Regions from separate parts of the Homo sapiens genome. Here regions 1, 2, 3, 4, 5 and 6 are each linked to region 7. Evidence: promoter capture Hi-C in human tissues and cell types (Jung and others, 2019). All regions are on one chromosome and are shown on one strand. The core of a region is centred on a gene start or on the middle of the fragment in contact, and the rest is flanking DNA. Distances in the headings are between cores, read along the strand shown. Region 1 holds the start of CERCAM (cerebral endothelial cell adhesion molecule). Region 2 overlaps TRUB2 (TruB pseudouridine synthase family member 2). Region 3 holds the start of DOLPP1 (dolichyldiphosphatase 1). Region 4 overlaps MIGA2 (mitoguardin 2). Region 5 holds the start of SLC27A4 (solute carrier family 27 member 4). Region 6 has its middle 17 kb from the start of ODF2. Region 7 holds the start of TBC1D13 (TBC1 domain family member 13).

What was found. The method cuts DNA at HindIII sites, captures the fragments that hold promoters and counts their contacts. A contact is called where the count stands out against the background at its distance.
Region 1: a contact is called between the fragment with the promoter of CERCAM here and the fragment with the promoter of TBC1D13 in region 7, in 3 of the 25 tissues and cell types used here (IMR-90 fibroblasts, dorsolateral prefrontal cortex and lymphoblastoid cells).
Region 2: a fragment that was not itself captured here is called in contact with the fragment with the promoter of TBC1D13 in region 7 in 1 of the 25 tissues and cell types used here (hippocampus).
Region 3: the fragment with the promoter of DOLPP1 here is called in contact with the fragment with the promoter of TBC1D13 in region 7 in 9 of the 25 tissues and cell types used here (H1 embryonic stem cells, IMR-90 fibroblasts, dorsolateral prefrontal cortex and 6 more).
Region 4: a fragment that was not itself captured here is called in contact with the fragment with the promoter of TBC1D13 in region 7 in 1 of the 25 tissues and cell types used here (spleen).
Region 5: the fragment with the promoter of SLC27A4 here is called in contact with the fragment with the promoter of TBC1D13 in region 7 in 1 of the 25 tissues and cell types used here (dorsolateral prefrontal cortex).
Region 6: a fragment that was not itself captured here is called in contact with the fragment with the promoter of TBC1D13 in region 7 in 1 of the 25 tissues and cell types used here (spleen).

The regions. Positions count from the first base shown.
Region 1 is chr9:128,419,585-128,422,449 of GRCh38, reverse strand. It overlaps CERCAM (cerebral endothelial cell adhesion molecule), which reads right to left and starts at 1,593. Exons shown (of 13, transcript NM_016174.5): 1 at 1,376-1,593. The coding sequence starts at 1,572. RefSeq lists an enhancer at 858-1,047 and a silencer at 1,308-2,207. The HindIII fragment of the contact is 34,497 bases long and covers 1-2,865 here.
Region 2 is chr9:128,316,012-128,319,353 of GRCh38, reverse strand. It overlaps TRUB2 (TruB pseudouridine synthase family member 2), which reads left to right. Exons shown (of 8, transcript NM_015679.3): 3 at 2,128-2,202. It overlaps LOC105376286 (a long non-coding RNA gene), which reads right to left. Exons shown (of 3, transcript XR_930377.3): 3 at 2,455-3,342. Among named protein-coding and RNA genes, the nearest start is that of TRUB2, 4.8 kb to the left of the region's middle. The HindIII fragment of the contact is 1,882 bases long and covers 806-2,687 here.
Region 3 is chr9:129,079,853-129,082,853 of GRCh38, reverse strand. DOLPP1 (dolichyldiphosphatase 1) reads right to left here and starts at 1,743. Exons shown (of 8, transcript NM_020438.5): 1 at 1,647-1,743. The coding sequence starts at 1,722. RefSeq lists a silencer at 1,316-2,045. The HindIII fragment of the contact is 10,069 bases long and covers 1-3,001 here.
Region 4 is chr9:129,044,748-129,047,906 of GRCh38, reverse strand. The region is part of intron 3 of MIGA2 (mitoguardin 2); the gene reads right to left. Among named protein-coding and RNA genes, the nearest start is that of MIGA2, 9.7 kb to the right of the region's middle. The HindIII fragment of the contact is 4,265 bases long and covers 1-3,159 here.
Region 5 is chr9:128,338,927-128,342,114 of GRCh38, reverse strand. It overlaps SLC27A4 (solute carrier family 27 member 4), which reads right to left and starts at 1,588. Exons shown (of 13, transcript NM_005094.4): 1 at 1,277-1,588. TRR-TCT3-1 (tRNA-Arg (anticodon TCT) 3-1) reads left to right here and starts at 1,949; the gene lies at 1,949-2,039. RefSeq lists an enhancer at 246-425 and silencers at 1,062-1,461, 1,532-1,941, 1,570-2,211. The HindIII fragment of the contact is 12,819 bases long and covers 1-3,188 here.
Region 6 is chr9:128,437,828-128,440,694 of GRCh38, reverse strand. No RefSeq gene overlaps it. Among named protein-coding and RNA genes, the nearest start is that of ODF2, 17 kb to the left of the region's middle. RefSeq lists a silencer at 1,904-2,077. The HindIII fragment of the contact is 5,750 bases long and covers 1-2,867 here.
Region 7 is chr9:128,785,685-128,788,762 of GRCh38, reverse strand. It overlaps TBC1D13 (TBC1 domain family member 13), which reads right to left and starts at 1,510. Exons shown (of 12, transcript NM_018201.5): 1 at 1,387-1,510; 2 at 356-429. The coding sequence starts at 1,409. RefSeq lists a silencer at 1,373-1,862. The HindIII fragment of the contact is 9,895 bases long and covers 1-3,078 here.

The sequences.
Region 1 (2,865 bases), core at 344-2,843, 370 kb after region 7:
ATTACAGGTGTGCACCACCATGCCCGGCTAATTTTTGTTTGTTTAGTAGAGATGGGGTTTCACCATGTTAGCCAGGCTGGTCTTGAACTCCTCACCTCAGGTGATCTGCCCACTTCGGCCTCCCAAAGTGCTGAAATTACAGGCGTGAGCCACCACACCTGGCCAACGAATGCATTTTGAAAGATGAAAAGTACCTCGACTTTAAGGATCACACCTGGTGCATTCCCTGGTTACCTTCGTTAGGTGGGCAGATACCTACCTATGTGACCTGTGGCTGTGTGACCACAGGCCAGCCCCTGTCCCTCTCTGAATGGGGACTAGACAGAAGAGCTGCTGCTTTCCTCCACCCCCAGGTTGTAATAAGGACCAAACCATGCTCTAAGCGTCCCTAAGAATGCAGATGGGTCCAAGCTCTGCTGTCATGGGGCACAGCCTCCCCTCTCCTGGGGAAGGGGCCCCCATAACAGAGGTGGGGGTTTAGCCAAGTGCCCAGGTTTTGGGTGATGCTGCCCCTTTAAGCCAATTCCCCAGAAATGAAGACTACGTGTCAAGTCTTACAGGGGTGGGAACTAACAAACTCCCAAACTGTGGTAATTGTGGGCGGCCTCCCCAGGCCAGGGCTCCACCCCCCCAGCCCAACTGTGGTGTGTTGAAGAGGGTGGCTTGTCATTTTTCTCAGTTTACCCCCAACCTCAGCCAGGGACTCCTCCCTGTTCTGGTGTCTACAGACCAGGGGTTGTGGCCTTCGATCCCAGTGCCCTGGGGGTACAGAGATGCCAGAGGGGAGAGGCTCCAGGAAGGGGGACTGCCCTTGGCTGACAGGATCCCGCCCCTCTACCAAGATCTACCAAGAGAGCTGGCCCCAGCACGGGGGCGGTGGGGGGGCCGGTCTGACTCCCCTGCACAGCCCGGAGCCCAGTGCTGATGGCACCCCCAACCTGTGCCCGGAAGCCTCCAGCGTGGTCGATCCCTGCCACGTTGGGCCCCAGTGGACTTCAGAGGTTCCTGTCTGCTCCTCTTCAAATCCAGCCAACCACAGGTCCCACTGGGGTTGAGCTGGGCCCTGAAGGCTGGGGTGAAAAGGGCTGGCTGGGCCCAACCTACACCCAGGGAAGGCCCCAAGAGGAAGGAGTAGGGGACCAGAAGGAGGGGTGGGTGTCCCGCGTCGGCCTGTGGCCTCAGAGGTCTGTCGTCTCCCAGCAGGGGGCTCGGGGTCCTCTCTGGCGGCTCGGGCTGGCAGGGCCGTCTGTGAGGGGAGGGGCCTGTCTAGGTGGTGTCTGGGCAGGGAGCGAGCAGACAGGGCCGCCGGGGGCGGGGGCCATCTGCGAAGCTGGGGGTTAGGTGCCCACTCGGTGCCAATGCCCGGGTCTCTCACCAGAGGGCCATCCTGGCCCGGGGGTAGTCCAGCCGCTCCAGAGCGCCCAGGTAGTGGGGCAGCGAGTGTTCGGCATTGCGGGCCAGGATGGCAAGGACCACGGCGGGCAGCGGCGACTCCGCAACGCCCGCAGCCTCCAGCCACGGCCCCAGCAGGAGCAGCAGCTGGAGCAGCGGCGCGGCGCGGGCAGCGCGCATGGCGGGCGCTTGGGCGGCTGCAGCGGCCCCCGGAGCTCTCGGGCCGGCCGAGGGGAGGGGGCGGGGCCTGGGGCCCGGGCGGGGCCGAGGCAGACCCGGAGAGGGCGGGGCAGTGCACCCTCAGAGTGGGATCCTGCTCCCCACCCCTGTGCGTGGATGCTCAAGTTTTCTCTCCTTGGCCCGGGGCACCGGAGGGCCAGGGCCCGGGGACCCGCGCCAGCCGCGACCCTGGAGCAGCCCCGCCCGGCTGGACCCCGGAGGGGCGACGGCGGAGGGGCCGGAGGACCGGACAGGGGAGGGGTGCTAGGACGAGTGCGTCGGGGCCGGCCGGGCGTCCGAGAACAGTAGGGGCTCATGGAACCCCTGGGCGTTGAACCCCCGGAATCCGGATTCCCCGGCCCACGCAGCCGACTCTTCGACCTGAGCCGCAGACCCAGAGGGGCGGCGCCCACTCGGCCACCACCTCCCGGGCTTCCCCGGCTCCCGCCCCATCCTCCGCCCCGGGCGCCCTCTGGCGGCCCTGGCGCTAGCTCCGCAGACCAGCCGGGCCACGCGTGGGCCGGAGACCCAGCGTGGGGGGCGCAGAGGGAGTCCCCCTGAGCTGGGCGCGTCCTCCCGCGGCGGTCCGCTCCTTAAGTCCCCTGTGCGTCACCTCCTTGCGTCGGTCGCCAGCACCCGCATTGCTTCGGCCCTTTAAGAGAGCACAGCCAGGCCGGGCGTGGTAGCTCACGCCTGTAATCCCGGCACTTTGGGAGACCGAGGCGGGAGGATCACCTGAGATCAGTTCAAGACCAGCCTGGCCAAGATGGTGAAATCCCATCTGTACTAAAAATACAAAAATTAGCCGGGCGTCGTGGCGGGTGCCTGTACTCCCAGCTACTTGGGAGGCTGAGGCAGGAGAATCGCTTGAACCCGGGAGGCGGAGGTTGCAGTGAGCCGAGATCGCGCCACTGCACTACAGCCTGGATGACAGACCGAGACTCCGTCTCAAAAAGAAAAAAAAAAAAAGAGCACAGCCCTCACAGCCCTCTCTTGGTCTGAGTGTAGAACTAGGGGACACCACGGAGCTGCTCACTGCGACCCGACCCGTCCGTCCTCCAAAGCAGGGGATGTTGGCTCCCCTGGAGCACCGCCGGGGTCCTTAGGACCCTGCTGGGAGGGAAAGAACTCTGCAGCCTCTCGGGAGAGGAGCAGAAAAGGGAGCGGCCTGGCGGCACCACAGATGGGATCGAACTGGGTGTCTGTCACCAACCTCAGACAGGTCCCTTTCCCTCAGGAGCCTCTCGGGTAAAA
Region 2 (3,342 bases), core at 497-2,996, 470 kb after region 7:
ATGCCTGGCTAATTTTTTTTTTTTTTTTGAGACGGAGTCATGCTCTGTTGCCCAGGCTGGAGTGCAGTGGCACGATCTCGGCTCACTGCAAGCTTCTCCTCCTGGGTTCACGCCATTCTCCTGCCTCAGCCTCCCGAGTAGCTGGGACTACAGGCGCCCGCCACCACGCCCAGCTAATTTTTTGTATTTTTAGTAGAGACGGGGTTTCACCATGTTAGGCAGGATAGTCTCGATCTCCTGACCTCGTGATCCACCCGCCTCGGCCTCCCAAAGTGCTGGGATTACAGGTGTGAGCCACCACGCCCGGCCATGCCTGGCTAATTTTTGTATTTTTTGTAGAGATGGGGTTTTGTCACGTTGCCCATGCTAGTATTGAACTCCTGGGCTCAAGTGATCTGCCTGCCTCGGCGTCTCAAAGTGCTGGGATTATAAGCGTGAGCCCTTGCAACTGGTCTCTTGATTTATTTTGAACCACTGAAAAATGCAAAAACCATTCTTAACTCATAGGCCACAAAAAACAAGCCAGATGCGGTGGCTCATTCATGTAATCCCAGCACTTTGGGAGGCCGAGGCAGGCGGATCACTTGAGGTCAAGAGTTCAAGACCAGCCTGGCCAACATGATGAAACTCCGTCTCTACTAAAAATACAAAAAATTAGCTAGGTATGGAGGCAGGTGCCTGTAATCCTAGCTACTCAGGAGGCTGAGGCATGAGAATCGCTTGAATCTGGGAGGTGGAGGTTGCAGTGAGTTGAGATGGCGCCACTGCACTCCAGCCTGGGTGACAAAGTGAGACTCCATCTCAAAACAAAACAAAACAAAACAAGCAAACACACACACACAAAAAAAAAACAGTCTTCAGTCTTCAGGTTTGACTTGTGGACTGTAGTTTGCTGACCCTTTTTCTATTCTGGGACTCCAGGTGAGAAATGAGACCCTAGGTAGAAGTCCTAAGGTAGGGGTTTTGGGTTTCTGGGAAAGAATAAGTTTATTTATTTATTTATTTGACAGAGTCTTGCTCTGTTGCCCAGGCTGGAGTCTGGAGTGCAGTGGTGTGATCTCAGCTCACTGCAACCTCCATCTCCCAGGTTCAAGCTATTCTCTTGCCTCAGCCTCCCAAGTAGCTGGGATTACAGGTGTGTGCCACCACACCCAGCTAATTTTTGTATTTTTAGTAGAGATGGGGTTTCACCATGTTGGCCAGGCTGGTCTCGAACTCCTGACCTCAGGTGATCCGCCCACCTTGGCCTCCCAAAGTGCTGGGATTACAGGTGTGAGCCACTGCGCCCAGCCGAAAGAGTGATTTTTTTACTGAATAAAGTTGCCCAACAATGGAACTGGTTCTGGTAATGTGTCCCCATCACTAGATGTGATTAAGGCATGTGTCAGGGAATCTAGAGGTTTGACCAGAAACCTCAAAAACCCGTTGGACTTGTGATATTCAATGACTCTATTATATGGTAACAATAAGAAGTATAATGTATTGAGTCGCCACTCTGTACTAGGCATTGTGTTAAGCTTCCCCCAAGTACAATCCTCATTGATATCACCACAGTGCTGTGAGATGGGTCCTATTTTCATTTCACAAGGGAGAAAACTGAGGCTCAGTGTTGACATTTAGTAACATGGCCTGGATTCAATAGGCCCTTAACTACCCTGGACTCTTCCCCTAGATTCCTCTTAATCTGTAGAAGTGTAAACACTTCTGGCTCATTCCTGCATTTATTCTTTCAGTAGTTCTTTCCTGAGCAGCTAGTGAGTTGACACACCCAGGTTCTGCCTTAAGGAGCTCACAGCCTCCATTTTCCTCCAGGGACTCTTCCTCAGTAGAGCTGGGCAGGGAACCCCGCACTCTTGACCTTCAGTGTTACGCCAGTCTTCTTAGAGCCTCTCACTGGGAGACTGATGATAGGCAGAGTAAGAGGCATCTTGGGCTGCCCTTTGGATCCCAGGGCACTGAGGATACAGTTCAGGGTCCCAGATTCCATGACGGGGAAGCCTGAGAGTCTGGCCTGATGCTAGTTTGGGCTCCATGAGGCCCATTCTGAGAACGAGGTCAACATGCAGCCCAAAGCCATCCTGGGGTGGCATTTAGTTGAGAAAATGGACCTTGTTTGTTTCTTTCCAGTATGTGGACCAGCATTCGCCCATCTCAAGGTTGGCGTGGGACATCGGTTGGATGCCCAGGCTTCTGGAGTACTTGGTAGGTGATGTGAGAAGCCTGGGGGTACAGTGATAAGGCTTGAGAAAAGATCCTGAAGCTACCAGGAGCCCAGCCCACTTCTTACCTGGCACCCACGTCCCACCACTCCTCTCCTGCCCTGATTCCTGCCCCAAGGCTGATCAGCTGGGGAGTGGATAGGTGGGACGGAGGTAATCACAGGTTAATACCACAGTCACCCACCTTTATTCAGTGATTCCCACACATGACATAGTTCGAGGCCCTTTATGCACATTTATTTACCACAACAACTTTATTAGGTAGATACTATATGATTTTATGGAAGAAGAAAGTAGGATTTAGGTGACTTGTTCTGGGTCCCATGGCCAGTGAATACCCCTGGTCCGGAGAAGGAAAACCATCATTGCATCATGGGGCAGCCAGGCGCGTGACTCTGGACCTAATGGCCAGGGCCTGCATGTGGCTGGGTCTGGACACACAAAGCCCTAGTCATGAGCCATCTGTGTCCCCAGGGTCAGGTGGTGCCCACATCCTCCAGCCGCGACAGTCACAGTCCCCTTGTCTTGCTTCCTGAGGCACAGGCAGGCAGACATGATCTCATGCCCCCTCTCCCTGTTCTGTCTCCCCACGAGTGAATGCAGAGTTATTCTGTCCCTCAGCCAGAGGGAGAAACAGACCGGGAGAAAGGCAGGAAGTGACCACAGTGGCCACCGTTTATTGGGCCCTTCCTCTGTGCCGACTGCACAGCACCCACAGGAATCAGTATTTTTTTTTTTTCCTGAGACAGAGTCTTGCTCTGTCTCCCAGGCTGGAGTGCAATGGCATGATCTCGGCTCACTGGAACCTCCGCCTCCTGGGTTCAAGCAATTCTCCCTGCCTTAGCCTCCCGAGTAGGTGGGATTACAGGTGCCCGCCACCACGCCTGGCTAATTTTTTTTTTTTTTTTTTGTGAGACGGAGTCTCACTCTTGTTGCCCAAGCTGGAGTGTAGTGTAGCACCACACCTGGTTAATTTTGTATTTTTTGGTAGAGATGGGGTTTCACCATGTTGGCCAAGCTGGTCTCAAACTCCTGACCTCAGGTGATCCACCTGCCTCGGCCTCCCAAAGTTCTGGGATTACAGGCATGAGCCACTGCGCCTGGCCTTCAGACAGTATTTTTA
Region 3 (3,001 bases), core at 494-2,993, 290 kb before region 7:
ATCTGGGAGTAGAGACAGGGTCTCTTTATATCCCACTCTATCCCCCAAGCCCAGCACAGGGCCTGGCTCTTAACTGGGCTCAAAAACTGTTGAATGAATGAAGTAAGCAAGTGACGGTGTGAAGAGGGGTGTGACGGAGAAGTGCAGGGAACCATGGAAGCATTAATAGGGGACTAGACCTCACCAGATGCTCCAGGCTCAGCCAGGTCCATCACAGCCTGTATCATGCTGCACACAACTGCCTGCCAGGTTCCTTCTGGCTTGTTGGATTGTGAGCACTCCAAGAAGCTACTCTGAGGCCAGGAGGGGAAGCTGTGAAGGTGCAGAGGCCTTAGCAAGTCTTTCCCCACCTCCAGGCTTTGGCTTTCCTCTTATAAAGCAGCTGGTTTTCATAGTGCAGGAATGCAGGGATATTTCAGGCCTGTTAAGCATTCTAAAAACCAGAGCTAGCCCAGGGCCTAGCACTCAGAAGTGTTCAGTGGATATTGACTGAATGAATGAATGGATGAATGAATGGTAGACAGGCAGGCAGGCAGGGCCCAGGACCTGGCAGGGCCATACCACCCCCAGTACAACCCAGAACACCAGCGTCAACGTTCTTTGGCATTCAGTCCTGGTGCCCTCAGCGGACCCAGGTTCTCACATCTCGCAAGACAGCAGCATGAGCAGGCCCTTCCCAGGCAACCAGGGCTCAATGAGGGGCTCCAGCCTTCCCTGGCACTCAACCATCTTACCCAGGGAGGGTCTTGCAAGGTGGGATAACATTAACTGCAGGTATTTACTGAACGCTTACTGCATGCCGGGCACTGTACTCAGCCCTTCTTGTGCCTCCTGCTATTTGATGCTCATACCATCACCAGAAGGTAAGCACTGTAATCAGTCCCACTTTAGAGATGAATTAACTTAAGCAGAGGCAGGCACCTGCACAAGGCCTCAGCCTCAACTGGAGCCCAGATGGGTCTGACCCCCACGCCCAGGCTCTGCGCCACTCTTACTAGACAGCCTCCAGAACGCCGCTAATGGACCTCTCAACTGGAAAGCCCTGCACTTCGAGAGGTGTGTCTGATGGGAAGCAACAGAAGTCAAGTTCCCGGAGGCTGCCCGCCCCCTCATCGGGTCCTCTCTGTTGTGGAATCGTGCCCTGCTCAGGGCGTGGCACCACAAGTACTCAAAAGCCTGGCTTCGGCTTGCACACTCCCAGCAACGGGGAGCTCTTTCTCTTACAAGCAGCCCAAAGCACTGTTCGAAGGAAACAAGACACTCCCTGCACGCTGGAACAGGAGTGCGGCCTCTCTGGGACAGGGGAGGGCGGGGAAGAAGGGCCAAGGTCCAGGCCAGGGATCTTTTCTCGCCTCACACAGATCCTCAACCCATTTCAGCCCACCGGCGCCCCGGGACCCGGGGGAGCGCCCTGGCCGCGCAGCCGCAGAGTGCGCGAGCGAGCGCCTCACAATTTCGCCCAGCTCATCCTCGCACCACTGCGCCTGCGCGGCGCGCGCGCCGGCCGAGCCCCTCCGTGGTTCACTATTTGACAGTTCCCACCCCGGTCCCCCGGCGCCCCCTCCGCGGGCTCGAGCAGGCCGGAGCGCCCGGGACTGAGAGGCCGTCCCTGGGAAGGCGTCCTTGGAGCCGGGACCGCCTTTTACCTGCAGGATATTCGACGTGGGTGAGGGTCACCGGCCGCCATGAAGCGGGGAGCGAGCACTGTCCGTCCGCTGCCATCTTACCCGGAGACCGGGCTTCTTCGAGCAGCCAATGGGGAGCCAGGGGGGCGGTGGTCCTGACCTATCACGCCGGGGAGGCGCCGTGCACCCAATCGGAGGCCAATATAGGTAGCGGCGCAGCCATTCAGCGTGCAGGCCGTGGGGGCTGGCCCGAGCGGCGAATCAGAGAGCGGGGCCCCTGGGAGCCAACGAGCCGCCCCAGCTGGCGCCCAATCTGGGGCGAGCGCAGGTAGGCATCTGGCCAATCAGAGAAGGGGAGGGTTCCAGCACCGAACAGGGAGCATAACAGCCAATCAGAAGGTGAGGCTGCCTCAGCTTGTGGGCAGGGCGGGCCAATCAGGCGCTGGCTTTGGGGGCGTGTTGAACTTTGGTGGGAGCTTTGGTTCGGCTGGGACCTGCGCCCTGAATGAAGGCTTCCCTGGTACCCCCTGCCGATCCGCGGTCTTGGGGACCTGCGCGTCCGATAGCGCGTGCTCGAAGAGGAGAGGCAACCTCAGCTCCAGGGGGTTTGAACCGACCCACTTTCAGTTACGAGTAAACTGAGACCAGAGAGCAGAGGGGGCTTATTTCCCTCTGCCCCATACTGGCCGGCGAAAGGGCAAGTCACACAGAGCAGGCGACCTTTTTGTCAAAAGTGTGTGGGGCGGGGCGCGCAGTAGGCGCCCTAAACGCTGGACTGAACAGAGAAGCTTAATTGATACTTAAGAGTGGAAGCTTAGCTACAGTTAAGGACTCCTTCCTCCTTTCATTCATTTAATAAAGATTTATTGATTCAGTCACGTCTATGCTACTTAATGAGGCGTCTTGGGAGCATTTCAAACAAGAAGTCGGTTTTCCACCTACCCCTCAGTTTTCCCAAGACATTCCTGCGTGAACAGCCACACCTTCCCACCCGCCTTCACCTCTCCTACCCGACTCTGTCTCTGGCTGGATTGGATTACAGTGCAGGTAAGGTGGGCTGGGAGGGCTCAGCCTCTTGTCTCCTGCCGCTAGCATGTGCTGTTTTTGTCTGTTTGTTTGTTTTTTGAGACAGGGTCTTGCTCTGAGGCCCAGGCTGGAGTGCAGTGGAACGATCTTGCTCAGCCTCCTGGGTCCAAGTGATTCTCCTGTCTCAGCCTCCCGAGTAGCTGTGACTACAGGCGCGCACCACCGCATCCGGCTAATTTTTGCATTTTTAGTAGAGACCGGGTCTTACCATGTTGGGCAGGCTGGTCTCGAACTCCTGGCCTCAGGTGATCCACCTGCCTCGGCTCCCAAAATGCTGAGATTACAAGCGT
Region 4 (3,159 bases), core at 44-2,543, 260 kb before region 7:
AAATACAAAAATTAGCCAAGTGTGGTGGCGTGGCCTGCAGCCCCAGCTACTTGGGAGGCTGAGGGTGGGGGATCAATTGAGCCTGGGAGGTCAAGGCTGCAGTAAGCCATGATCGCAATACTTCATTCCAGACTGGGAAGCAGAGTGAGACCCTGTCTCAAATATATATACATATATATATATAAATTTTTTTAGGATGGGCTGGGTGGATCATGTCTGTAATCCTAGCACTTTGGGAGGCCGAGGTGGGTGGATCACTTGAGGTCAGGAGTTCGAGATCAGCCTGGCCAACAAGGTAAAACCCCATCTATAATAAAAATACACAAATTAGCCAGATGGGGTGGCGCACGCCTGTAATCCCAGCTACTCAGGAGGCTGAGGCAGGAGAATCGCTTGAACCTGGGACACGGAGGTTGCAGTGAGCCAAGACTGTGCCACTGCACTCCAGCCTGGGCAACAGAGCAAGAATGTCTCAAAAAAAAAAATTTAATGAAATGCACCAAAGGTTATTTTTTAAAATAGAGACAGGGCCGGGCACAGTGGCTCACACCTGTAATCCCAGCACTTTGGGAGGCTGAGGTCAGCAGATCACATGAGATTAGGAGTTCGAGAGAAGCCTGGCCCACGTGGTGAAAGCCTGTCTCTACTAAAAACACAAAAAATTAGCCAGGTATGGTGGCACCTGTTTGTAATCCCAGCTACTTGGTAGGCTGAGGAGGAGAATCCTTGAACCCGGGAGGCAGAGGTTGCAGTGAGCCAAGATTGCGCCATTCCACTCCAGCCTGGGCGACAGGGTGAGACTCTGTCTCAAAAATACAAAACAAAATAGCCTGGGCACAGTGGCTCATGCCTGTAATCCTAGTACTTTGGGAGGCCGAGGTGGGTGGATCACCTGAGGTCAGGGGTTCAAGACCAGCCTGGCCAACATGGAGAAACCCCGTCACTACTAAAAATACAAAAATTAGCCAGGTGTGGTGGCACACGCCTGTAATCCCAGCTACTTGGTAGGATGAGGCAGGAGAATCGCTTGATCCTGGGAGGTGGACGTTGCAATGAGCTGAAATTGTGCCACTGCATTCCAACCTGGGCAACAGAGTGAGACTGTCTCAAAAAAAAAAAGTAAATAAAAATTAAAAAATAATAATAAAATAAAACAAAGAAAGCCGGGTGTGGTGGCACGCACCTGTAATCCCAACTTTTGGGAGAACGAAGTGGGCAGATCACCTGATGTCAGGAGTTTGAGACCAGCCTGGTCAAAATGGTGAAACCCTGTCTCTAGTAAAAACATAAAATTAGCCAGGCATGGTAGCACTCCCAGCTACTCGGGAGGCTGAAGCATGAGAACTGCTTGAATCTGGAAGGCGGAGGTTGCAGTGAGCCAAGATTGTGCCACTGCCCTCTGCCCTAGGCGACAGGGCAAGACTCTGTCTCCAAAAAAAAAAAAAAACAGAGACAGGGCCTCCACATACCACCCAGGCTGGTCTCAAACTCCTGGGCTCAAGTGATCCACCTGCCCCAAAGTACTGGGATTACAGGTACAAGCCACTATACATGGCCAATATTTTGTTAGAAGTGAGAAAAGTAGGGAAGGGAAAATAAGGTGAAATGAGAGCAGGCAGAGTGGGACAGGGCACAGAAGCTAAACGCTGTGCAGATGACTCCAGGTTTCCCAGGACAGACACAAAATTAGGCTGCCTGAGTGTCTCTCAGGGTCCTCTTCCATATTAGTCTCAAGACTTCTTGTTCCAATTCTAGGCCGGGCGCAGTGGCTCACACCTGTAATCCCAGCAATTTGGGAGGCTGAGGCGGGCAAATCAGGAGGTCAAGAGATGGAGACCATCCTGGCCAATATGGTGAAACCCTGTCTCTACTAAAAACACAAAAAATTAGCTGGGCGTGGTGGCACGCACCTGTAGTCCCAGCTACTCAGGAGGCTGAGGCAGGAGAATTGCTTGAACCCGGGAGGCGGAGGTTGCAGTGAGCCAAGATGGCACCACTGCACTCCAGCCTGGCGACAGAGCAAGACTCCGTCTAAAAAAAAACCAAAAAAAAAAAAACAAAACACTTATTTTTCCAATTCTAAAGATAATACTTTCCTTTTGCAACAATAATACACAATTAAAATTTATTTTCACAGGAGACTTTTGCTTCTTATTTTTTTAACAGAGACAGCGACTCTCTATGTTGCCCAGGCTGGTCTTGAATTCCTGGCCTCAAACAATCCTCCTGCCTCCCAAATTGCTGGGATTACAGGTATGAGCCACCACACTCAGCTAATTTATGTTCTTTCTCTTTTTAAAAAAAAATTATTTATAGAGACAGGGTCTCTCTATGCTGCTCAGGCTGGTCTCAAACTCCTGGACTCAATAATTCTCCCGACTTGGCTTCCCAAAGTGCTGGGATTACAGGTGTGAGCCACCACACCCGGTCTACTTTTGCTTTTTTTTTTTTTTTTTTTTTTTTTTGAGACAGAGTCTTACTCCATAGCCCAGGCTGGAGTGCAGTGGTGTGATCTCGGCTCACTGCAACCTCTGCCTCCCGGGTTCAAGCGATCCTTCTGCTTCAGCCTCCTAAATAGCTGGGATTACAGGCATGCACCCCCATGCTTGGCTAATTTTTGTATTTTTAGTAGAGAGGGGGTTTCACCATGTTGGCCAGGCTGGTCTGGAACTGCTGTCCTCAGGTGACCCGCCCACCTCAGCCTCTCAAAGTGCTGAAATCACAGGCTACTTTTGCTTCGTTTTTTTTTTTTTTTTGAGATAGAGTCTCGCTCTGTCGCCCAGGTTGGAGTGCAGTGGCACAATCTCGGCTCACTGCAAGCTCCACCTCCATAGATGCCTGCCACCACACCCGACTAATTTTTGTATTTTTAGTAGAGACAGGGTTTCACCGTGTTGGCCAGGCTGGTCTCAAACTCCTGACCTCGGGATCCGCCTGCTTTAGCCTCCCAAAGTGCTGGGATTATAAGCATGAGCCACCGCGCCTGGCCTTACTTTTGCTTCTTAAAACAAGTTTCAGCTGGGCACGGCGGCTCACACCCATAACCCCAGCACTTTGGGGGGCCAAGGCGGGAAGATCTCTTGAGGCCAGGAGTTTGAGACCAGCCTGGCCAACACAGACCAGCCTGGCCAACACAGACCAGCCTGGCCAACATGGTGA
Region 5 (3,188 bases), core at 339-2,838, 450 kb after region 7:
ACAGTTCACTCTTCTGACATCCAGGGTCCCTAAAACCGGATGGCCTGGGGGTGGGTACTGACTTAAGAGCCTCTGGCTCGCTGGCAGTGGTGGCTCACACCTGTAATCCCAGCACTTTGGGAGGCCGAGGCAGGCGGATCATGACGTCAGGAGTTCGAGACCACCCTGACCAAGATGGTGAAACCCTGTCTCTACTAAAAATACAAAAATTAGCCAGGCATGGTGGCACACACCTGTAACCCCAGCTACTCAGGAGGCTGAGGCAGAAGAATTGCTTGAACCCGGGAGGCGGAGGTTCCATTGAGCCGAGATTGTGCCACTGCACTCCAGCCTGGGAGACAGAGCGAGACTCCGTCTCAAAAAAAGAAAAAAAAAGTCTCTGGCTCGACTCCCCACCCAGAACCCAGGGAGGTTCTGTGGATGACCAGGCCAAGTCAAAGGGGCAGCTCCCTGGAAAAGGAGCCCTGCTTGGTCCCTGCCCATAGACTCAGGTATCGCAGTGCGTCTGTTGGTCTATAGAGGGCGACCCAGAAAACGAGTTAGAGCCTGGAAGTGCTTGAAAGGTGACCGCCCAGGGGGCAAAGCTGATTGAGGGAGGCGAGGAGGACCTTGAAGACACCACCACCCATCACACAGACACACACAGCCACTCGGATGAATCTTTGGGGTCTAGGGCTTAGGGGAAGGCGAATGACTTGACTGTGCTTCAGGGGCTGGGTTGAGCTAGGACTCTTGGGTTCTATTCCTGGAGCTTTGAGGACTCGATCAAGGGGACATCTGATGGGACTGTTTTTCTCCGAGTTTTCCTGTTCTTGGGAGTAGATGAAGGTCACAAATGTGAAATGGCCTGAGAGCCTCCAAGCCAGGAAAAGGGAATGGTCTGGACCACAAGAAGCCCTGGGAGACCATCTCCCCCTCCCCCTCGCGAAAAGCAAAAGCCGGGGGCGGGGGAACTGAACCAGAGTCCTCAACCCCAACGCCAGGGTCCAGGGTCCTCAGATCTCTGGCCTCCCATAGCCCGCCATAGCAGAGGGGCAGGAACCTGTCCTGGAAGGCTGGGGCAAGAAGAGGCCAGAAGAGGGTGACTAGTTCCCTCGGGCCCCTGTCCCGGGTCACGCGTGCCGCCCTCGCCCCTAGACAGCAAGGTAACAGTGCGTCTGTCGGGGAAATAGCGCCGCAGGGCGCGCCCCCCACCTGGGGTCCGCACCGCCACCTCGCCCGACTCGGCCTGGCACATGTCCCCACCCGGGAACCCACCAGCCCGGTCTATGCTCACCCGGCGTCGGCTCCGCCGCGCGGCGCCCCGTCCAGATGCGGCCCGGTTGCAGCAGCGTAGACAGCGTGAGGGGCATTAGCCGCCCCTGGACGCACGGAGCCGGGTCTCAGCAGGGTTTAGCCGGCTCTGCGCCCTGCATGGCCCGGCCGCCCCGCCAGCCCCGCCCGCCGCCCGGCCCCGCCCGCCGCGCTCCTACCCCGCCCGCCTCCCGCACCCCAAACCTGCTGTGCCAGGCCGCAGCACCGCCTGCCGCACCTTCCCCGAAGCCGGCAAGCCACAGAGCCGGCGGCGCAGCGCAGCCCCAGCGCGCCTGACGCCGCTCGGCCCCAGCCCGCCCTGCTCGCGCAACGGCTTCGGGCGGCGCCGCCGCGCGGCACGCTGGGAGTTGTAGTCCACGCCGCGCGGCCCCACCCAGCCGAGGAGACCCCCGAGTCCGCGAGGAGACAGGCGGGCTTCACCCCGGCCCTTCCTCCCTGCCGACCCCGGCCCTTGCCCCCTGCTGTCCCCAGCGCCCGGATGTAGGAAGAGCACCCCAGTCCACACCACAGCCGAAAACCCGGAGCACGCTCTCGGGCCCCGGCCGAGTTCAGCAAACACCCAGCACCACACCTAGAAGCTCGCTAAGAGGGCGGTTTCAGGCAGAGGTGAGCGGGGCGGCCGGGTTCCGCAGCCGGCTCTGTGGCGCAATGGATAGCGCATTGGACTTCTAGCTGAGCCTAGTGTGGTCATTCAAAGGTTGTGGGTTCGAGTCCCACCAGAGTCGAATTTTGATGGCTCCTACTCCCTGACTTTCACCTGCGTGTTTTAAGGACTCCAGGACCTATCTAACAAATAAGGTTCAGAACGAAAATCATAAGTCACACCCAACTTTGCTGCGACACAGCCATAAACCTGGTGTCTAGGTGACTACGAGAAATCCTTTCTCGTACCATGGTGTCTTGTGAGCAGCCTGGCACACCTGTTGGCACAAAGGACACGGATTTGGAGGCCCTTAGTTAACTTCACCATCTATGATCTCTGGTCCCTGCAACAAATCAGTTAACCTATATTTGTCATGCCACCCTTATTTGTCATGCCACCTCCAGAGCCATAGGCGAGTGGCCAGATTCTCGGCCCTGTTGGGACTCTTGGCCTCTGAAAAATTGGTTTCTTGTTAAGTAACCATGTTGGGCATCCACAGTTGCCACTTGTCCTTAAACATTAATAGATCCCTGGGAGGCTGAGGCAGGAGAATTGCTTGAACCTGGGAGGCGGAAGTCGCAGTAAGCCGAGGTTGCGCCACTGCACTCCAGCCTGGGCGACAGAGCAAGTCTCCATCTCAAAAAAAAAAAAAAAAAAAAAAAAAAAAAAGATTCTGGGACTGGCGTGGTGGCTCAAGCTTGTAATCCCAGCACTTTTGGAGGCTGAGGCAGGAGGATCACTTCAGCCAGGAGTTCAAGACCAGCCTGGGCAACATAGTGAGACTCTGCCTCTACAGGAAAAAAAAAAAAATTAGCCAGGTAGCTCTTGCTTGTACTCCCAGCTACTCAGGAAGATGAGGTGGGAGGATTGCTTGAGCTCTGGAACTTGGGGCTGCAGTGAGCTGTGATTGCACCACTAAACTCCACCCTGGGCAACAAAGTAAGACCGTGTCTCAAAAAATAAAAATAAGCTGGGCACAGTGGCTCATGCCTGTAATCCCAGCACTTTGGGAGGTTGAGGTGGGCAGATCACATGACGTCAGGAGTTCGAGACCAGTCTGGCCAACAGGGCGAAACCCTGTCTCTATTAAAAATACAAAACTTAGCCGAGCGTGGTGGTGCACGTCTGTAATCCTAGCTACTCAGGAGCTGAGGCAAGAGAATCACTGAACCCGGGAGGCAAAGGTTGCAGTGAGCCGAGATTGGGCCACTGCACTCCAGCCTGAGCAACA
Region 6 (2,867 bases), core at 144-2,643, 350 kb after region 7:
GCCCAGCCATGCTTGAATTATTACAGTGGGTTCCTAACTGGTCTCACTGTTTCTTCCATGGACCTGCCTACAGTTTATTCTCAGCACAGTAGCCGGTGTGATCTTATAACACTACATGAGATCATGCCACATCTCTGCCAGGGTGATCATGTAAAAATGTAAGTTAGATGGTTACTTCTTTGCCTCCATCTCTCTGGGGGCTCCATCTCAGAGTAAAAGCCAAAATGGCCTTCATGGCCATCCCTGCTCTGGCCCCAGCCTTGGCTCTATCAACTCTAGACACTGGTCCTCCTCTCTTCTGCACTGTCAGTCCTGCTTCTGCCTCAGGACCTTTGCATATGCTGTTCCTTCTGCTTGGAAGCTCTTCCTTTTGCTATCCCCAAGGCTCAGCCCCTCCCCTCCTTAAAGTCTTTTTTTTTTTTTTTTTTGTCTATTTTTTTTTTTTTTTTGAGACGGAGTCTCACTCTGTCACCCAGGCTGGAGTGCAGTGGTTTGATCTCGGCTCACTGCAACCTCTGCCTCCCAGGTTCAAGCAATTCTCTTCCTCAGCCTCCCACGTAGCTGGGACTACAGGCGCCCACCACCACACCTGGCTAATTTTTGTATTTTTAGTAGAGACGGGGTTTCACCCTCTTGGCCAGGCTGGTCTTGAACTCCTGACCTCGTGATCCACCTGCCTCGCCCTCCCAAAATGGTGGGATTACAGGTGTGAGCCACCCTGCCTGGCGAAGTCTTTTGTTTTTGAGATGGAGTCTCACTCTGTCGCCCAAGCTGGAGTGCAGTGGTGCAAGCTCAGCTCACTGCAACCTCCACCTCCCAGGTTCAAGTGATTCTCCTGCTTCAGTCTCCCGAGTAGCTGGCATTACAGGCGCCCGCTAGCACACCTGACTAATTTTTGTATTTTTAATAGAGATGGGATTTCCCTATGTTGGCCAGGCTGGTCTCAAACTCCTGGCCTCCAGTGATCCATCTGCTTAGGCCTTCCAAAGTGCTAGGATTACAGGCATGAGCAACTATGCCTGGCCCACTCCTGCGTCTTTGTTCAGGTGTTAACTTCTCAGATCTTACTTTGTATCTCTCCGCTTCTCATTTTTCTCTATAGCAATTCACACCCTCTGATCTTTCTTTGTTTTTGTCTGCATCCCTCATTAGGATGTCAGTTTTGGCCGGGTGTGGTGACAGAAGGTGATAGAGTGAGACTCCGCCACAAAAAAAAAAGAAAAAAAAGAATGTCAGTTTAATGAGGTCAGGGGTTTTGTCAGTTTCATTCACTGCTGAATCCCCAGGGCCTGACTGCGGCCCATGGGAGGTGCTTAATAAAGGTTAACAAATGAATGAAGGGGACACCTGGAGCCTGGAGAGAAGTGAGTCGCTCAAGGTCATAGCCATCCAGAATGAATGACTTTCATCTTAGAACGAATAAAGCACCGAGTCCACAGCTCCAGCCCAAGGTCCTTCTCACAGCCGTGCCAGGTCCTGGACCTCAACCCCAGGACAGAGCCAAGGGATACCCCAACCTCAGGGAGTGCCTGTCAGGCTCTGCCAGGACTGGAGTGCTCACACAACCAAGTCAGGGGGCCACATGGAAGAGGAGCAGGAACGGTGGAAGCCAAAGCAGCCATGGCCAAGGCCAGGAGCCATCTCCCCTCCCACCCCTCCAGCTGCCTGAGTGCAGGCATGACAGACAGCGGCTGGGCCCAGAAGCCCGACTCTCTGGGGCCAGGGGAGAGGCCTGCAGTTCCCATCAGAAGAGCAGAAGACGCAGAGCTGCTGCGGGTTGCCCCAGCACCAATGGGAGCTTCCCTATGGCCCATGCTTCCTTCCTGGTGTTGGCCCCAACCCAGCAGAGAGCATCCTGGCCAAGTCCAGGCTCTGCCACCTTGCGCCCTCTGGTGGCCACATTGGTTAGTGCCAGAGGGGAACCCAGGATCTCCCCCAGCCCCTCCCAGGCGGTTCCTCTTCCCCTAAGCCAGGGTTTCAGCTGCACAAGAGATGATCCAAAGGGCCGGGGGACATCAGCAGCCCTTGGACTGGCTGGGCCCACCCTGACCAGCAAGGTGAGGCTGGTAATGACTTCGGGGATGACCACATCAGCCCCAACAGGTGAGCACTCACTGTGAGCCGGGCTCAGGCTAGGCCACTCTATACCCAACCAGCCACAATGACCGAAGAGTAGACTAAGGCCCAGGGAAGGGATGGCACCCACCCAAGATCACCCAGCACAGAGGTGATGCTGGATCGGCCTGACTCCTCACCTGTCCTCCCCTCTCTGTCCCTCCAATTGCTCAACCATAGATCAGGAAGCCTCCTCCCAGGCCAGCTGAGATGCAGAGGCTCAGCCATGAGTTAAAAAATATAAAGTAAAAATACAAAAATTAGCTGGGCGTGGTGGCACATGCCTGTAATCCCAGCTACTAGGGAGGCTGAGGAAGGAGAATCGCTTCAACCCAAGAGGCGGAGGCTGCAGTGAGCCGAGATCACACCACTGCACTCCAGCCTGGGTGACAGAGCGAGACTCTGTCTTAAAAACAAACAAATATATATACATGTATATATATGTATGTATACATATATACATGTATATACACGTATGTGTACATATATACACGTATATATACGTGTATATACGTGTGTGTATATACGTGTATATACGTGTGTGTATATACGTGTATATACGTGTGTGTATATACGTGTATATACGTGTGTGTATATACGTGTATATACGTGTGTGTATATACGTGTATATACGTGTGTGTATATACGTGTATATACGTGTATGTGTATATACGTGTATATACGTGTATGTGTATATACGTGTATATACGTGTATGTGTATATACGTGTATATACGTGTATGTGTATATACG
Region 7 (3,078 bases), core at 261-2,760:
AAGGAATGAGGAAAGACTGTCCTGGGCTCAAAAGGTCCCAACTCTCATTCTCCAGGCTTCAGTCCTGTCCTGTTACTCTCAGGAATCTGGCACCTCCTGCGGAAAGCTTAGGAAAGCTTAGGGCATGCTAAGTGTGGCCACTGCCCCTCTGGGAAACCCCTCCAAGCTCAAGGCAGTCACTGCCTGTTCAGCTCTACAGAATCTGGAAAAGGCCCCAAGAGTCTGTGTGTAATTTCCTTCCAAGGCCCCAGCCCCCAGCAGCTGGGCCCCAGAGCTGACCAGGTGTGGCCTCCCCCTGTATTCTAGCCACAGGGCTGCTGTAGGGAAACCGTGAAAATACAGAATGGCTTCTTACCACTAAAGCTGAGTTCCCGCAGCTTTTCCAATGCAATTGAGGGCTCCTTCAGGACATCCTGGAAATCTGCAATTCTGGAAGGGGAGATAGGGCGGCAAATGAAGCATGCTGATATCGGCTCAGTGAGACCCACAGCCCTCAGCTCCCTCACACTGCCAGTTTCCAACCTGTGCCTCTCTCCCCTTTAGGACATAAAAATCACACAGCTTAGTCAAGGTCCTCACCAAAGACAGCTTTGGAGAACAACAAAACTATATTTCACTTCTTCCTCTACAACCAGAAACACAGAATGCCAGGGAAGAAACTTGAGAGATATTCTTGTCTAGAAGTTCCCAAATGAGGACCATAAAATTAGACATATTCCAACATTCTAATACTTAGTGAGCTGACATTTACTGGGCACTTCCTGCCGGCCAGGCCGGGTCCACGCACAGCCACCAACTGAACTCCTTGGACCTCAGGAACCAGGAGTAATTTGATATGCAGACAATGGACCATGCTCACAAATATAACCATTACAAGACCTCTGGGCCTGCCAGAAGGCAAGGACAAAGGGTTTAAAAAACACGTCCTGAAGGAAAACTGAAGAGTGAGCAAAATTCAGCCAATGCTGCAGGATCTGGCCTGGGGGAGGGGCCAGACTGGAGAATGCAAGTTCTCTAGCAATCCTAGTAAGAAAAAGGCACGGGGGACAGGGTGCACTTGGAGAGAGTACGGGAGCAGGGGGATCAAAAGGGGGAAAGGCACGGGGGCGGGGCATGGGGGTCTGGATGAGGAAGACTCAGGGGAAGGGGGACACCAGGGGTCCAGGATGAGGGAGGCAGAAGCAGTGACATCAGGGGCAGGAGAAGGGCCGCCCCTCCGTCGTTCCTGCAGCCCACAGGCAATGAGGTTAGAAGGTGGACGCTCGAGACCCTCTGCCGAGGGGGTCTGCCGATTCCTGGCCACACCCGCGCTTCCCCCTTCTGAGGGGCAGAAGGGGCAGCCTGGCCAGGAGTGGCCCAGCCGGGTCAGGCCCCATGGCCCCTTACCGGCTCTTGTGCAGACTTGACATGGTGTTGACTTCCGGACCCCCCAGCCGCCTCCGCCGCCTGCGCCTCTGCCGCCTGCGCTGCCGCCGCCGCCGCCGCCCCCCAGGGACGCGGGGCTCTGCGCAAAAGCCTCCGGCGGGAAACACAGCCACTAGCCTGCGCGTTCCACCGCCTCAGCCCCGCCCCGCCCCGCCAGTCACGTGCCACCCCTCGACTCTCACGCTTCCACACGGTACTGGCGGCTACGGCCGGCCGGGTTGAGCGGGGCAACCTCGGGTCTGGTGGGCGTGGCAATCGCGGGCCGGGAGCCCCAGCGCCGCCGACCCTGCGGGCCAAATTTGAGAACCCGCCGGTGACAGCGCAGACTGTGTGTCTCTGGACTATTCCTTGCGCTTCCCTGGGCCTCAGTGTCTACTTACGCAATATACCTGTCACCCTGTCGTCTTCCCTGCACTCACCCCCCTGTAATTAACTACTGCATGATTGTTACAGGAGTCTCGGCCTCCCCTGCTAAACTGTTCAGGCCCCCCAGCTTATCTTGGTCTCTGCAGAATCCTCAAGGCCTGTATAGCAGGGACTCGCATGAACCGCCGTGCGCGGCCCAACTTTTTTTTTTTTTATAAAAACTATACCAGCAAACCCTATAAAATGTAAGTTAGGAAGAAAGAAAAAAACACAAATGATATCTTAAGAAAAATAGGCTGGACCGGGCGCGGTGGCTCATCCCTGTAAATTCCAGTGCTTTGGGAGGACGAGGCAGGCAGACCACTTGAGGTCAGGAGTTGGAGACCACTCTGGCCAACACGGTGAAACCCCGTCTCTACCAAAAATGCAAAAATTAGCCGGGCGTGGTGGCAGGCGCCTGTAATCCCAGCTCCTCGAGATTACCTTCTTTACAAAAGATGTAAAAATTAGTTGAGTAGGCCGGGCGTGGTGGCTCACGCCTGTAATCCCAGCACTTTGGGAGGCTGAAGCGGGCAGATCACCAGGTCAGGAATTTGAGAACAGCCTAACCAACATGGTGAAACCTCGTCTCTACTAAAAATACAAAAATTAGCCGGGTGTGGTGACGCACAACTGTAATCCCAGCTACTCAGGAAGCTGAGGCAGGAGAATTGCTTGAACCCGGGAGGCGGAGCTTGCAGTGAGCCGAGATAGTGCCACCGCACTCCAATAGCGCCACCGCACTCCAACCTGGGCAAAAACGCAAGACCCTGTCAAAAAAAAAAAAAAAAGAAAAGAAAAGAAAAGAAACTGCTTAAAGATTTTCCGAAATGGTTGTATTATTTAACACCTTTTTCTTGAGAAAAAAAAAAAAAGAAAGAAACAGCTAGCCAGGCGCGGTGGCTCACGCCTGTAATCCCAGCACTTTGGGAGGCCAAGGAGGGCGGATCATGAGGTCAGGAGATCGAGACCATCCTGTCTAACACGGTGAAACCCCATCTCTACTAAAAAATACAAAGAAAAAAATTAGCCGGGCGTGGTGGTGGGTGCCTGTAGTCCCAGCTACTCGGGAGGCTGAGGCAGGAGAATGGCATGAACCTGGGAGGCAGAGCTTGCAGTGAGTGGAGATTGCACGACTGCACTCCAGCCTGGGCGAAAGAGCGACACTCTATCTCAAAAAAAAAAAAAGAAAAAGAAAAAGAAAAGAAAGTGCTTAAATATTTTCCAAAATGGTTGTATTATTTAACA